4 separate regions of the Homo sapiens genome follow, and regions 1, 3 and 4 are each linked to region 2. Evidence: promoter capture Hi-C in 16 types of primary human blood cells and fetal thymus (Javierre and others, 2016). All regions are on one chromosome and are shown on one strand. Each heading gives the region's core, a stretch centred on a gene start or on the middle of the fragment in contact. The rest is flanking DNA. Distances are from core to core; before and after follow the strand shown. Region 1 has its middle 24 kb from the start of SLC25A5-AS1. Region 2 holds the start of UPF3B (UPF3B regulator of nonsense mediated mRNA decay). Region 3 overlaps STEEP1 (STING1 ER exit protein 1). Region 4 has its middle 44 kb from the start of SLC25A5-AS1.

The links. Contacts are between HindIII fragments. The CHiCAGO score rates a contact against its expected background, and 5 or more counts as called.
Region 1: a fragment that was not itself captured here is called in contact with the fragment with the promoter of UPF3B in region 2 in 6 of 17 cell types (total B cells, fetal thymus, activated CD4 T cells and 3 more); the score reaches 7.8 in total B cells.
Region 3: a contact is called between a fragment that was not itself captured here and the fragment with the promoter of UPF3B in region 2, in 1 of 17 cell types (non-activated CD4 T cells). The highest score is 5.4, in non-activated CD4 T cells.
Region 4: a contact is called between a fragment that was not itself captured here and the fragment with the promoter of UPF3B in region 2, in 6 of 17 cell types (non-activated CD4 T cells, total CD8 T cells, monocytes and 3 more). The highest score is 10.3, in non-activated CD4 T cells.

The regions. Positions count from the first base shown.
Region 1 is chrX:119,491,154-119,494,333 of GRCh38, reverse strand. No RefSeq gene overlaps it. Among named protein-coding and RNA genes, the nearest start is that of SLC25A5-AS1, 24 kb to the right of the region's middle. The HindIII fragment of the contact is 2,254 bases long and covers 623-2,876 here.
Region 2 is chrX:119,851,713-119,854,524 of GRCh38, reverse strand. UPF3B (UPF3B regulator of nonsense mediated mRNA decay) reads left to right here and starts at 1,562. Exons shown (of 11, transcript NM_080632.3): 1 at 1,562-1,752; 2 at 2,652-2,758. The coding sequence starts at 1,597. RefSeq lists an enhancer at 1,528-1,587. The HindIII fragment of the contact is 8,775 bases long and covers 1-2,812 here.
Region 3 is chrX:119,553,108-119,555,970 of GRCh38, reverse strand. The region is part of intron 2 of STEEP1 (STING1 ER exit protein 1); the gene reads left to right. Among named protein-coding and RNA genes, the nearest start is that of STEEP1, 11 kb to the left of the region's middle. The HindIII fragment of the contact is 1,418 bases long and covers 779-2,196 here.
Region 4 is chrX:119,511,414-119,514,556 of GRCh38, reverse strand. No RefSeq gene overlaps it. Among named protein-coding and RNA genes, the nearest start is that of SLC25A5-AS1, 44 kb to the right of the region's middle. RefSeq lists a silencer at 1,737-2,031. The HindIII fragment of the contact is 4,998 bases long and covers 1-3,143 here.

The DNA.
Region 1 (3,180 bases), core at 500-2,999, 360 kb after region 2:
CTAACAAAGAGGAGCTGGGGCTAAGCTTCTGTTTTACACTGAACAGAGCAGGGAAGAAAATTCATGCATCAGGGTGCTCTTTAGAGTTCTATTGTGAAGGAGAATAACTTGTTTATATTAGGCAAGGCCCCAGTAGCTTCTTTGTAAATTTCAGTCTGGAGAAAATAAAGCCAGAGCTGCAAGTCCAAACAGGTAAAAAAAAAAAAAAAAAAATTTTTTTTTTTTTTTTGAGACGGAGTCTCACACTCTTGCCTGGGCTGGAGTGCAATGGCGCAATCTCAGCTCACTGTAACCTCTGCCTCCCAGCTTCAAGCGATTCTCCTTGCCTCAGCCTCTCAAGTAGCTGGGATTACAGGCACCCGCCACAACGCCCAGCTAATTTTTTTTGTAATTTTAGTAGAGACGAGGTTTCACCATGTTGGCCAGGCTAGTCTCGAACTCCTGACCTCGTGATCCGCCTGCCTCGGCCTCCCAAAGTGCTGGGATTAGAGGCATGAGCCACCGCGCTTGGCCCCAGGTAAAATTTTGATAAGCTCATGAAAATTTCAACTAGAGAGTTCAGGCACCCATGGCTGGGATGAGGGCAACAAATCTGGAGCAACAAACATGCAACCAACAAGCTTTTTTTGACAGCATACTTTTGTTTGGCACTCCTCTACGCACTGGGATACAAATATGAGTAAGAATGCTACCACCTAAAATAATAGATGCCTGGATAGGCATAGCTTATCTCTGGAAGGTAACACCAGAATGTGGTCATGGAGATTACCTGTGGGTGGCGAGGGAACAGGGGTGGGAGGGAAACTAACTTGTTACTGTAAACCCTTTATACCTTGTCAATTTGGTATCCGAGGATATATTACCAATATATTACCCATTCAAAAGATAAATGTGGTATCAGGGAGACACAAATACGTAAATGTGTAAATAGAGAAGTAAATAGCAGCATCAGCTCACAAAAGCATGTTCACAGTGCTAGAGTTATTGACAACAATGGAGGAACCATGATATAAAGACTGAATTTACTAGCCCAGGCATGATGGCTCACGCCTGTAATCCCAGCACTTTGGAGGCCCAGGCCGGCAGATCGCCTGAGGTCAGGAGTTCGAGACCAGCCTGGCCAACATGGAGAAACCCTGTCTCTACTAAAAATACAAAAATTAGCCGGCCGTGGTAGCTCATGCCTGTAATTCCAGCTACTTGAGGGGCTGAGGTGGGAGGATCACTTGAGCCTGGGCTATCGAGGCTGCAGTGAGTTGAGATTGTGCCACTGCACTCCAGCCTGGGAGACAGGAGTGAGACCCTGTCAAAAAAAAAAAAAGACCAAATTTACCAATTTGGTTTCCTGGCTTAGGACAGAATTGAGGCTTCAGCCATGATAGTGACGTCTAAGAAGTCCCTCTACCTCTAGCCAGAGGTCCTGGCTAGAAGAAAAAAAAAAAAGTATGTTTTCTTGTCTTTTTCCAAACACATCACAAGAGCAATATATAACCTGACAAGAATGCAGGGGCAGGTAAGACCTGCCTAAGGCTGAAGGAGTTTTGTCCTTCCATAGGCATTGGCCTCCTCCTCCCCTCACAGACAAAGGTGACTGTGTCAGTAACAACTATTTACCTTGCAAGCACATACCTGTGCCTAGCCAGACCTACTCCCTTGCATAGAGAAGTGATTCCTGACAGACTCTGCATCCAACTGGTCTTGGGGCAATGCCACCTGCTCACTCTAGCCTAAACCTGCTGAGGAGCTAGCACAATCCTGAGAAAAAGGGTCAAGAAATCACGTTCTGGCCGTTGAGTGGTGGCTCACTCCTGTAATCCCAACACTTTGGGAAACTGAGGCAGGAGGATCACTTGAGGCCAGGAGTTCAACACCGCAGTGAGCTCTGATCACACCACTGCACTCTAGCCTGGGCAACAGTGAGACCCTGTTTCAAAAAAAAAAAAAAAAAGAATAAGAAGTGGATAACTCGATTATCCACAGGTGGATTGTTTTTTTCTGGATTATAGGCTGACAATTTATTATTATTATGTATGTATTTATTTATTTATTGCGAGACAGAGTCTCACTCTGTCACCCAGGCACGATCTTGGCTCACGGCAACCTTTGCCTCCCGGGTTCAAACAATTCTTCTGCCTCAGCCTCCCAAGTAGCTGGGACTACAGGCACCTGCCACAACATTTGGCTAATTTGTGTATTTTTTAGTAGAGACAGGGTTTTGCCATGTTGGCCAGGCTAGTCTCAAACTGCTGACCTCAACTGATCCACCTGCCTCTGCCTCCCAAAGTGGTACGATTACAGATGAGAGCTACCGTGCCGGGCCTATGCTGACAGTTTTTAATCCTGGCCTGATTTTCCCTCATATACCCCTCCCCCAGGCTACCTTTAGACTTCCTTTATCCAAAGCCCAGTGGGTCTACTAGGGAAATAATGTCATGATAACTATGACTGCCACCCTTTATTGAATGCTTCCAGGGGCCAGACATCAGGCTGTGTTATATGTATTAGTCTTCATGCAATCCTCACAGATACCCAATGAGAAAGGTATTCTGGCTATATCTGTGTTTTGCAGATGAAGAAACTCAGGGAGATAAACAGCTAGCAAATGGTGGTGATTGGACTGAAAACCAGACTGTGTGGCTGAGCGCCCATACCACTGGTCTATAAAGGCTCTTAACCACTCTCCTATTCTGCATCCCATAAAGTTAATTTTAATTAGCCCAATCCAGCTCTATTTAGGAAGAGAAATATGCTGCCAAAAATCACTTACAATATCCAAAAGCTAAATATAAAAGGCTTTTCTATTATCACTTGTTTGGGGCTATTTAGGCCAAGGCTTCCTTCCAAGGGCCTGTGTAACCAAGGGTTATATGGAAGCTTAGCATCTGGGCAAACAGGAAATGAGCCCAGCTCTGCTGGCTCTGTCAGCGCCCTAAAAAGATCTACTCACGGGGGAAGTTAAACTTATAGAACCAGGATGGGCCAGGTGCGGTGGCACACACCTGTAATCCCAACACTTTGGGAAGCTGAGGTGGGCAGATCACTTGAGGTCAGGAGTTCGAGACCAGCCTGGCCAACATGGCAAAACCCTGTCTCTACTAAAAATACAAAAATGTAGCTGGGTATGGTTGTGTGTGCCTGTAGTCCCAGCTACTTGGGAGCAGGAGAATCGCTTGAACCCGG
Region 2 (2,812 bases), core at 313-2,812:
TCTCTCTCTTTTTGAGATGGAGTCTCACTCTGTCACCCAGGTTGGAGTGCGGTGGCACAACCTCGGCTCACTGCAACCTCCGCCTCCCAGGTTCAAGTGACTCTCCTGCCTCAGCCTCCCAAATAGCTGGGACTACAGGCGCCTGCCACCATGCCCAGATAATTTTTGTATTTTAGTAGAGACAGGGTTTCACCAAGTTGGCCAGGCTGGTGTCGAACTCCTGATCTCAGGTGATCCGCCGGCCTCGGCCTCTCAAAGTGCTGGGATTACAGGAATGTGCCACCACGCCCTGCTAATTTTTTTTGTTTTTAGTAGAGACAGGGTTTCGCCAAGTTAGCCAGGCTGGTCTCGAACTCCTGACCTCAGGTGATCCACCCACCTTGGCCTCCTAAAGTGCTGGGATTACAGGCGTGAGCCACCACGCCTGGCCGACTGATCTGCTTTCTATCACTGTGGTTTTATTTTTCTAAAATTTCATATAAATGGAATTGTACAACATGTACTCTGTGTCTAGATTCTGTCACTCAACATAATCACTGTTAGATTCACATTTGGATTGTTTCCAGTTTGGAGTTATTATAAATAATGTAAAATTGGCCCTTTTTAAGTGAAGATGGTGATCGCAACTAAATCAAGTTGGGTTTTATTTTTATTCCCCTCCCTGTGGGACATCAGTACCTGGGGAGAAGGATCCTTTTGCTAAAATAAGGTGATGAAAACAAATCTTGTATATTTTAGTCATATTACTCCTTTAAATATCAGTATCTTGTGTTTATTTATTATTATCCTTCTTTTTTATATACAGGGTCTCGCTCTGTCGCCCAAGCTGGAGTGCAGCGGCGCGATCATGGCTCACTGCAGCCTCGAATTCCTGGGCTCAAGATCCTCTCTTCTCAACCTTCCCGAGCAGCTGGGACTACAGGCGTGCGCCACTGAACTCGGCTAATATTGTAGTATTTACTAAGTATCTGTAAATCCTAATCAATATAAGGAAAATAAAGTTTTTTAAATGTTAGGCTTTTTCTTTTAGTTGTAGGAAAATAAATGCTAAAGCCTCTGAATTCAATGATAAAAAATACAAGTCGCTCCCCTAGTGAGGCAAAATTTGGACGGCATTGAGTTTATCTGATGGAAACTAAGCGTGAAGAACCTATCTTTCGACCTGGAAAACTCTGAAGATGAAAGGATTCGATTTACTCACAAACAGGGACCCTGAGATAGCTCTGGCCCCTGAACGCCCAACAAAAGCGGGTAGCTGCTTTGTATGCCGGGATTTGTAGTCCCCGACAGAGTCACTTCAAGATGGCGGAATTGCTAATGACGCGCGAAGGGGCGGGCCCCGAGGGAGTCTGGGCCGCGAGGGGATTGGGTGGCGCAGGAACTTGGCGGGCGGGAAGTAAAAACCAGGTGTTAAAACCTTTGCACTGGGAAAGGCCCAAGTCTCGCGAGAGCTTGGCAGGACCCAATGGAACGTGGGGCCCGACTTATCACAAGGGGCATTTGTTGGGGGCGGAGCTTTGACGGGAGCTTCCCGGGAGCCGTTTGTGCCCGGGGTAACCCCGTTCCGGCCAAGCCGCTTCAGCGGGGGACGTAGCCATGAAGGAAGAGAAGGAGCACAGGCCTAAGGAGAAGCGAGTAACCCTGTTAACCCCCGCCGGGGCCACAGGCAGCGGTGGTGGGACCTCGGGGGACAGCTCCAAGGGGGAAGATAAGCAGGATCGCAACAAGGAGAAGAAAGAAGCGCTGAGCAAGGTGCCCGGTCGGCCGCTGGCCCGGGAGAGGGCGGGACGAGTCCGCAGCGCGGGGAGGATGGCTGGGAATGGGGCTGCCCCCTTTCTTTCTCAGGTTCTCCTTCTATCTCTTCGCCTGAATGGAAGTCGCATCATCCTGGTTCATCCATTCACCCGAAATGGGGAGAGCCCCTCCCGGCCAAATCCTGGGTGGGGGTGAGGAAAAGAGGGGACTCCCCAAACGGGAAGGGTTTAGGTCAGAGCTGTGAGATGATAATGGGAGGGAAGAGCGACGGTATAAAGAATGAGGAACTAAAGGTGTAATTGGGGAGAAATATTAAATAGTGAAGGAGACATGAGGGATGGGAATATTATTCATGGAGGCGAGTTGGGGGAGAGTGCAGGGTGATTAATGGTACAGGAGGGTAGATCGAGAGCATCCTATTTTGAGAGCAATGGGTAGATTTTTTGTATTCGTTAGAGTTTTGAATTCTTAAGTTCAATGGGCAAGGATTTTGTTTTAAGATGTGTTGGACGTGGGAGAAACTTGTTGCTAAATCAAGATTTCGTGGCACCCACAAAGACCAGCGTTGGCTTACTAAGTTATTGCCACTAGATCTGTTAAAAAATGGGTGATCGAAAATGATGCACAAACCTGGTAAACTGCAGGGCTGCTGTAAAGAGCAAAACCTGCGATTTTTCCTTGCTCCAGGTGGTTCTCATTTCCAAGGGTTTTTTTAAACCGCGTTACTATTATGTTTGACTAATTCTGAGCATTGGGCTGCAGAAGAATATTTTCTCCTGGGTTTTTACAAGTGATCTCATATTTTAAAGCCCAGCCTTCTTCAGGAACTGTGATTCTTTCAGGTATGACAGAAAACTGATTTGTACTAATTTTATTTTCCTTATGCATTTCTTAAGGTGGTAATTCGAAGATTACCTCCCACTTTGACCAAGGAGCAGCTTCAGGAACATCTTCAACCTATGCCTGAGCATGATTATTTTGAGTTTTTTTCTAATGATACGAGGTAAAAAAAAAAAAAAAAGGAAAGGGGTAAATGAAAAAGGTTTCTTTCATTCTT
Region 3 (2,863 bases), core at 238-2,737, 300 kb after region 2:
GCTCTTTTGTTGAAGCCATTGCAGTCAGGTCTCTATTACTATTAGCCAAATGCTAGTCCTTCTTTTCCTTCTTCTTATGATGACACCAGGATTCATGCAGTGGCCCCAGCCAGAAATCTAGGAGTCAGTCTCTCTTTGTCTCATCTGTCCCCACCATCCCACCATCATCCCCTGCATACATCTAGTCACTCACCATGTACTGTCGATTCTGCCTTCTAATCTCTTTTGTGGCTGCTGCCTCCTGTTCAGCCCTGCTGCACTGCCGTTATTTCAGTACCCAAAATCACTTACTTAGACTACTGAAGTGGCCTCTTACCTGGTCTTTTGGTCTCTAGTTTTGCTCTCCTCCAGTCTATCCTCTACTGCTTGAATTATCTGAAATACACATTATGTCAGTCACCTGCTTCAAATCTGTTAGTGACCCTTCATCACTTATAGCAATGCCTTTGAAACATTTTTAGATGAAAAATCCTTTCTTTAATTAAATTCTTACCCAGAAGTATAAATAAGACTGATAAGCAGAAAGCTGCTCTGAGTGGGGAGGAGTCTAGCCCAATCCATTAAGGACTCCTCCTTCCTCCCCATCTGATTTCATTTAGGGATCATTGTGGAGTACAAGGAAAACACTCCTAGTTGGCTGGATAAAAATATAAGCCTGAATGCGCTCTATGATCTGTCCATCTTCATCTTCTGGTACTCTCTTGATTTTTTTTTTTTTAAAGAACAAACATTTATCATTTTATGTATTTTCTGTGGGTCAGGAATTCAAGAGCAAGCTTAGCTAGGTGATTCTGGTCTCTCATGAAGCTGCGATTAAGAAGATGACTATGTAAACAGTCATCTGAAGTCTTTTTTTTTTTTTGAGGCAGGGTCTCACTCTGTCACGCAGGCTAGAGTGCAGTGGCACAATCACAGCTCACTGCAGTCTCGATCTCCTGGGCTCAAGTGATCCTCCCACCTCAGCCTCCTGAGTAGCTGGGACCATAGGCATGTGCCACCATGCCTGGCTAATTTTTAATTTTTTTTTGTAAAGACAGGGTCTTCCTATGTTGCCCAGGCTGTTCTTGAACTCCTAGGCTCAAGCAATCCCCCTGCCTTGTCCTCCCAAAATGCTGGGATTACAGGTGTGAGCCACCGTGCCTGGCCTGAAATCTTGATTAGGGCTGGAGAGTCATCTTCCAAGGTGTCTCATATGGTAGGCAGTTGAGTGCTAACTGTTGGCAAGAAGCCTCAGTTTCTCAACACAGGGATCTTTCCATAAGGCTGCTTGAGTATCCTCATGACATGGCAGCTGGCTTCCCATAATGTAAGTAATTCAGGAGAGCAAGGCAAAAGCCGCAATGTGTTTTATGGCTATGACTCAGAAGGCACACACAGTTGTTTCTGTGATGTCCTTTTGGTGTCACAAGTCAGCGCTATTCATTGTGGGAGGTGACTATACAAGGGTGTTAGTACCAGGGACAAGGATCATTGGGGGCCACCTTAGAGGCTAGCTACCACAGCCAGAATGGAGAATTTTTTTTCTTGAGATGAAGTCTCACTCTGTTGCCCAGGCTGGAGTGCAGTGGCGCAATCTTGGCTCACTGCAACCTCCACCTCCTGGGTTCAAGTGATTCTCCTGCCTCAGCTTCCCGAGTAGCTGGGATTACAGGCATGCACCACCATGCCTGGCTAATTTTTGTATTTTTAGTAGAGACGGGGTTTCACTGTGTTGGCCAGGCTGGTCTCGAACTCCTGACCTCAAATGATCCACCCGCCTTGGCCTCCCAAAGTGCTGGGATTACAGGCGTGAGCCACCGTGCCCGGCCGAGAATGTTTTGTTTTGTTTTTGGTCACAGAGTCTTCCCTATCTCATATATTCCTTGAGATTCAGGATAGGAAAGAAAATCAAGGTCAATTATCCCAAACATCTAGCTCATATTAATCACTTCTTTAAGTCATACCACTTGAAATTCTTACCTCATTTACATTAAAGTCTCACTATTTCAATAAGATGAACTTTTTGAGAGCAGGAACCCTGCCTTATTTTTCTGAAACCCTTAGGACAGACATCTTGCCTGCTTCTTGGCACATAGTTAGAAATAGATACATTTTTATAAACTTGACAAAATCCAGTTTGTCATTGGTACTTGAAGATTAACTCATTGAGAAATATGCGGCCCCATTTATTTGATATTTCTATGTGTTTTGAAAGCTTGAACTTACGGGATTGGCCGACTTCAGGATTCTAGGGGAAGTTCATTCTCTGTATGGTGAATCTCTCCCTTCAGTATGGGGTTGAATTTAGTCCCAGTGGGACCAGAGAGGGTATATAGAACCAAAAATATTATTAGTGCCCTGGTCCAGTGATGTCAATGAATTGGAGCACCTTTGACATAAGTAATACTTGTAAATGGAGAGGCAGAACATTAAAGATGATGGTCAGCACAGTCTGTATAGTTATATCCCAAGCAGTACCACTTTGTGACTTTGGGCAAGTAATCTTTTAGGCCCCCAATTTCCTTATCCTTCAATTGGGAAAATAATACCCATGTGTTGTCAAAGAGCAACTGGAAGTCTCCTACAGTACCAGAAAGACCACAAATAGTTATAATGACTTTGGAAAGTACTTTGGCAACATCCAGTATAGCTAAAGGTGCATATAATGTGTGCCTTATAAATTCTGCTTTTCATGTACACCTTAGCAAAGTGATTCTCAACCTTTGCTGTGTGCCAGAATCATCTGGAGGAGTTTTTTGTTTGTTTGTTTGTTTTAATGCGAATGCCTCAGCTTTACCCTCAGAGATTTCGTTTCTGTTTTCCACTTTTTTTTTTTTTTTGAGACAGTCTCACTCTGTTACATAGGCTGGAGTGCAACGGCGCG
Region 4 (3,143 bases), core at 26-2,525, 340 kb after region 2:
CGATCTTGGCTCACTGCAACCTCTGTGTCCTGGGTTCAGGCGATTCACATGCCTCAGCCACCAGAGTAGCTGGGACGACAGGAGCCTACCACCACGCCCGGCTAATTTTTGTATATTTGTAGAGAGGCGTTTCGCCATGTTGACCAGGCTGCTCTCAAACTCCTGGCCTCAGACGATCCACTCACCTCAGCCTCCCAAAGTGCTGGGATTACAGGCGTAAGCCACCGTGCCTGTGGCTGAACTATTTAATAAATGATGAAGTATTGAATAAAAACCCCTTCAATTGGCACCCCTCTCATGTGGCCCTTGCCTGTCTGGTTCCATCGCCCCCGCCCCATCTAGCACTTTATATTCTAGCACAACTGGGCTACTTGAAGTGCTTTGAACATGCTTCATTTTGTCATGTCTTGGGGCCTCCTTTGCATATGTTCTTCTCTCTGCAAAGCTGCCTTGTTCCTCCCTGGTTACTCTTCCCTCCCCCACCCCTTATTTAATCTTCAGGTGTCTTTACAAGTGTCCCTGACTCTCTGAGGTTGACTTAGGCCCTCGCACTTCCTCTCCTCTTTACAGACATCCACTGGATCTCTTGCAGCCTATCCAGTGCCTCTCTTTCTGTGTCTGTCTTTCTATGAGACTGAGTTCCTTGAAGGCAACAGTTTCATCCTGTAATCCCACGACCTGGCACAAGGTTTGGTGCTTGGTTGCCACTTATTAAGTGCTTGTTGGATGAATGAGTCAGTGGAGTGCAAGTAGACAGCAGGAGAAAAGGAAACGAGGTTTGACGGGAGACAGGAGGCTCTTTGGTATCTGACAGACCCAGATTATCCCAAAACACAATCTGCTGTGATCTCTTAATTTCTCTGCATTACAAAAGAAGCACAAAGGATCCAGAGCCTGTGGAACCCTGCCTTGTGCCTGGGCCAGGCATATAAGACCCTTGCCCAACTGTGCAATGATGGTTTCTACCTGTGTCTATGGACTCTGTGGGTGTCTAAGAGGTAGGGCCACCCACCCAAACGTTTTGTTAACTGACTTATATGGAAAGAGGAGAAAGAGAATCCTGACAATGCTCACTGCTTCTGCAACTGCTTGTATAATACAGTCACATCTGTCAACCCCACGTGCTGCAAAAAGATTCCAGGAATCCTGAGATGTTGCTGCTCTCAGCCTTTGGGGTAGCTGGGCTGAGCCTGGGGCAGCTCTGGCCACAAGAAGCCTCCTTCTTTGTGCAACACAAATACCATTTTCTGTGTCTGCTGCAGACTTAAAAAGGTTAATGAGCACTGTTGGATAATATCTAATCATTCTGGTCAGGTACTGCAATTTTGTGAGTGCCCACCTGGGACCTTGGCATCTTGAATTTACCCATATATTTCCCCCCAATTAAAGCCTTTTCTCGGCCGGGCGCGGTGGCTCACACCTGTAATCCCAGCACTTTGGCAGGCCGAGGCGGGCGGATCACGAAGTCAGGAGTTTGAAACCAGCCAGACCAACATGGTGAAACCCCATCTCTACTAAAAATACAAAAATTAGCCAGGCGTGGTGGCACGTGCCTGTAATCCCAGCTACTCAGGAGGCTGAGGCAGGAGAATTGCTTGAATCTGGGAGGCGGAGGTTGCAGTGAGCCAAGATCGTGCCGCTGCACTCCAGCCTGGACAACAGAGCGAGACTCTGTCTCAAAAAAAAAAAAAGTATTTTCTCATGTTTTCAAGTAGGACAGGGATATTTGTTTATTCCCCATTGTATAGGTGAGGAAACCAAGGCGCAGCGAGGTCAAGAGACCAGCACACTCCAGCATTGTCAGAGACAAATCAAACTGAGGAGCTGGCTGAAGCCCGCACCCTCTGAGGCTGTCCAGCTGCAGTGCATTTACACTCTGCCCACAAGAGGTCAGTAGGTTCCACAGGAGCAGAGCTGGCTACAGGGAGGCCCGCACAATGAAAGGTGGAGCCATCCTCCCTGAGAGCAGCCCTGGTTACTGGCTGCACAGCAGCTACCTAGAAGGAAATCCTTCTAACAACAGGTTTTCCAAGAAGTCCTTCTTCCAGGGGTGGACCAGCGGTTGGGGCTGGCCAACGGTGTGTATCCTGGGAGGGCTGTGGGAGTTCCCAGGGGCAGCTGCTTTATTATATTGCAATCCTCAGGGTTTGATAAGCTATTTGTGGAGGGCGGTGTCTGTAGATGGGGCAGCTGGCGTGCTTCCATCTGCCTAGAAAGCTGCAACCATCTCCACGGTAATAACTGGAACCAAAAATATCACACGGCTGTCTGCTAGGCCAGAACGTTCCTGTCTGTCTGCTCTCTGGAGGCTGAGGGTGGAGGAGACTTAAAAAGCCATATATTGCCGGGCACTGTGGCTCACGCCTGTAATCCCCACACTTTGGGAGGCCGAAGTGGGTGGATCACTTGAGGCCAGGAGTTTGAGACCAGCCTAGGCAACATGGTGGAACCCCGTGTCTACCAAAAAAGACAAAAATTAGCTGTGTGTGGTGATGCACGCCTGTAGTTCCAGCTACTGGGGAGGCTGAGGCACGAAAATCACTTGAACCCGGGAGGCAGAGGTTGCAGTGAGCAGAGGTCATGCCACTGCACTCCAGCCTGGGTGACAGAGCAAGACTCCATCTCAAAATAAAATAAAATAATAAGATATATATATTTCTATATATTTCTATATATATATTTCTATATATAGAAATATATATATTTTTATATATATATATAGCATCCCCAAGATTTAGAATCAGACAGACCTGGGTTTGAATCTTGATTTTTCTTCTTATTAACTGTGACCTCAGGCAAGTGGCTTAACTTCTCTAGGCCTCAGTCTCCTCATTAATAGAATGGGGAATAATAATACCTGCTTTTCTGGCTGTTCTGAGGATTTATTCACTCATTTGAAAGATAGTGGCATGCCTGTCCTACAGTTGTTACTAGGTTCAGGGGATACAAGAGATTCAACGCCTGGCACATAGTAAGTGCTGAATTAATGATAACTTGTTTTTGAAGGTCATGCCACGAATTTGGACTCAAAATAGCAGGCAGTTGAAAGCATTCTGAAAAGAGAAGTAGTAAGAAAAAAACACTACTTTTTTTTTTTCTTTCTCAGGCAGGGTCTCACTGTTGCCCAGGCTGAGTGCAATGGC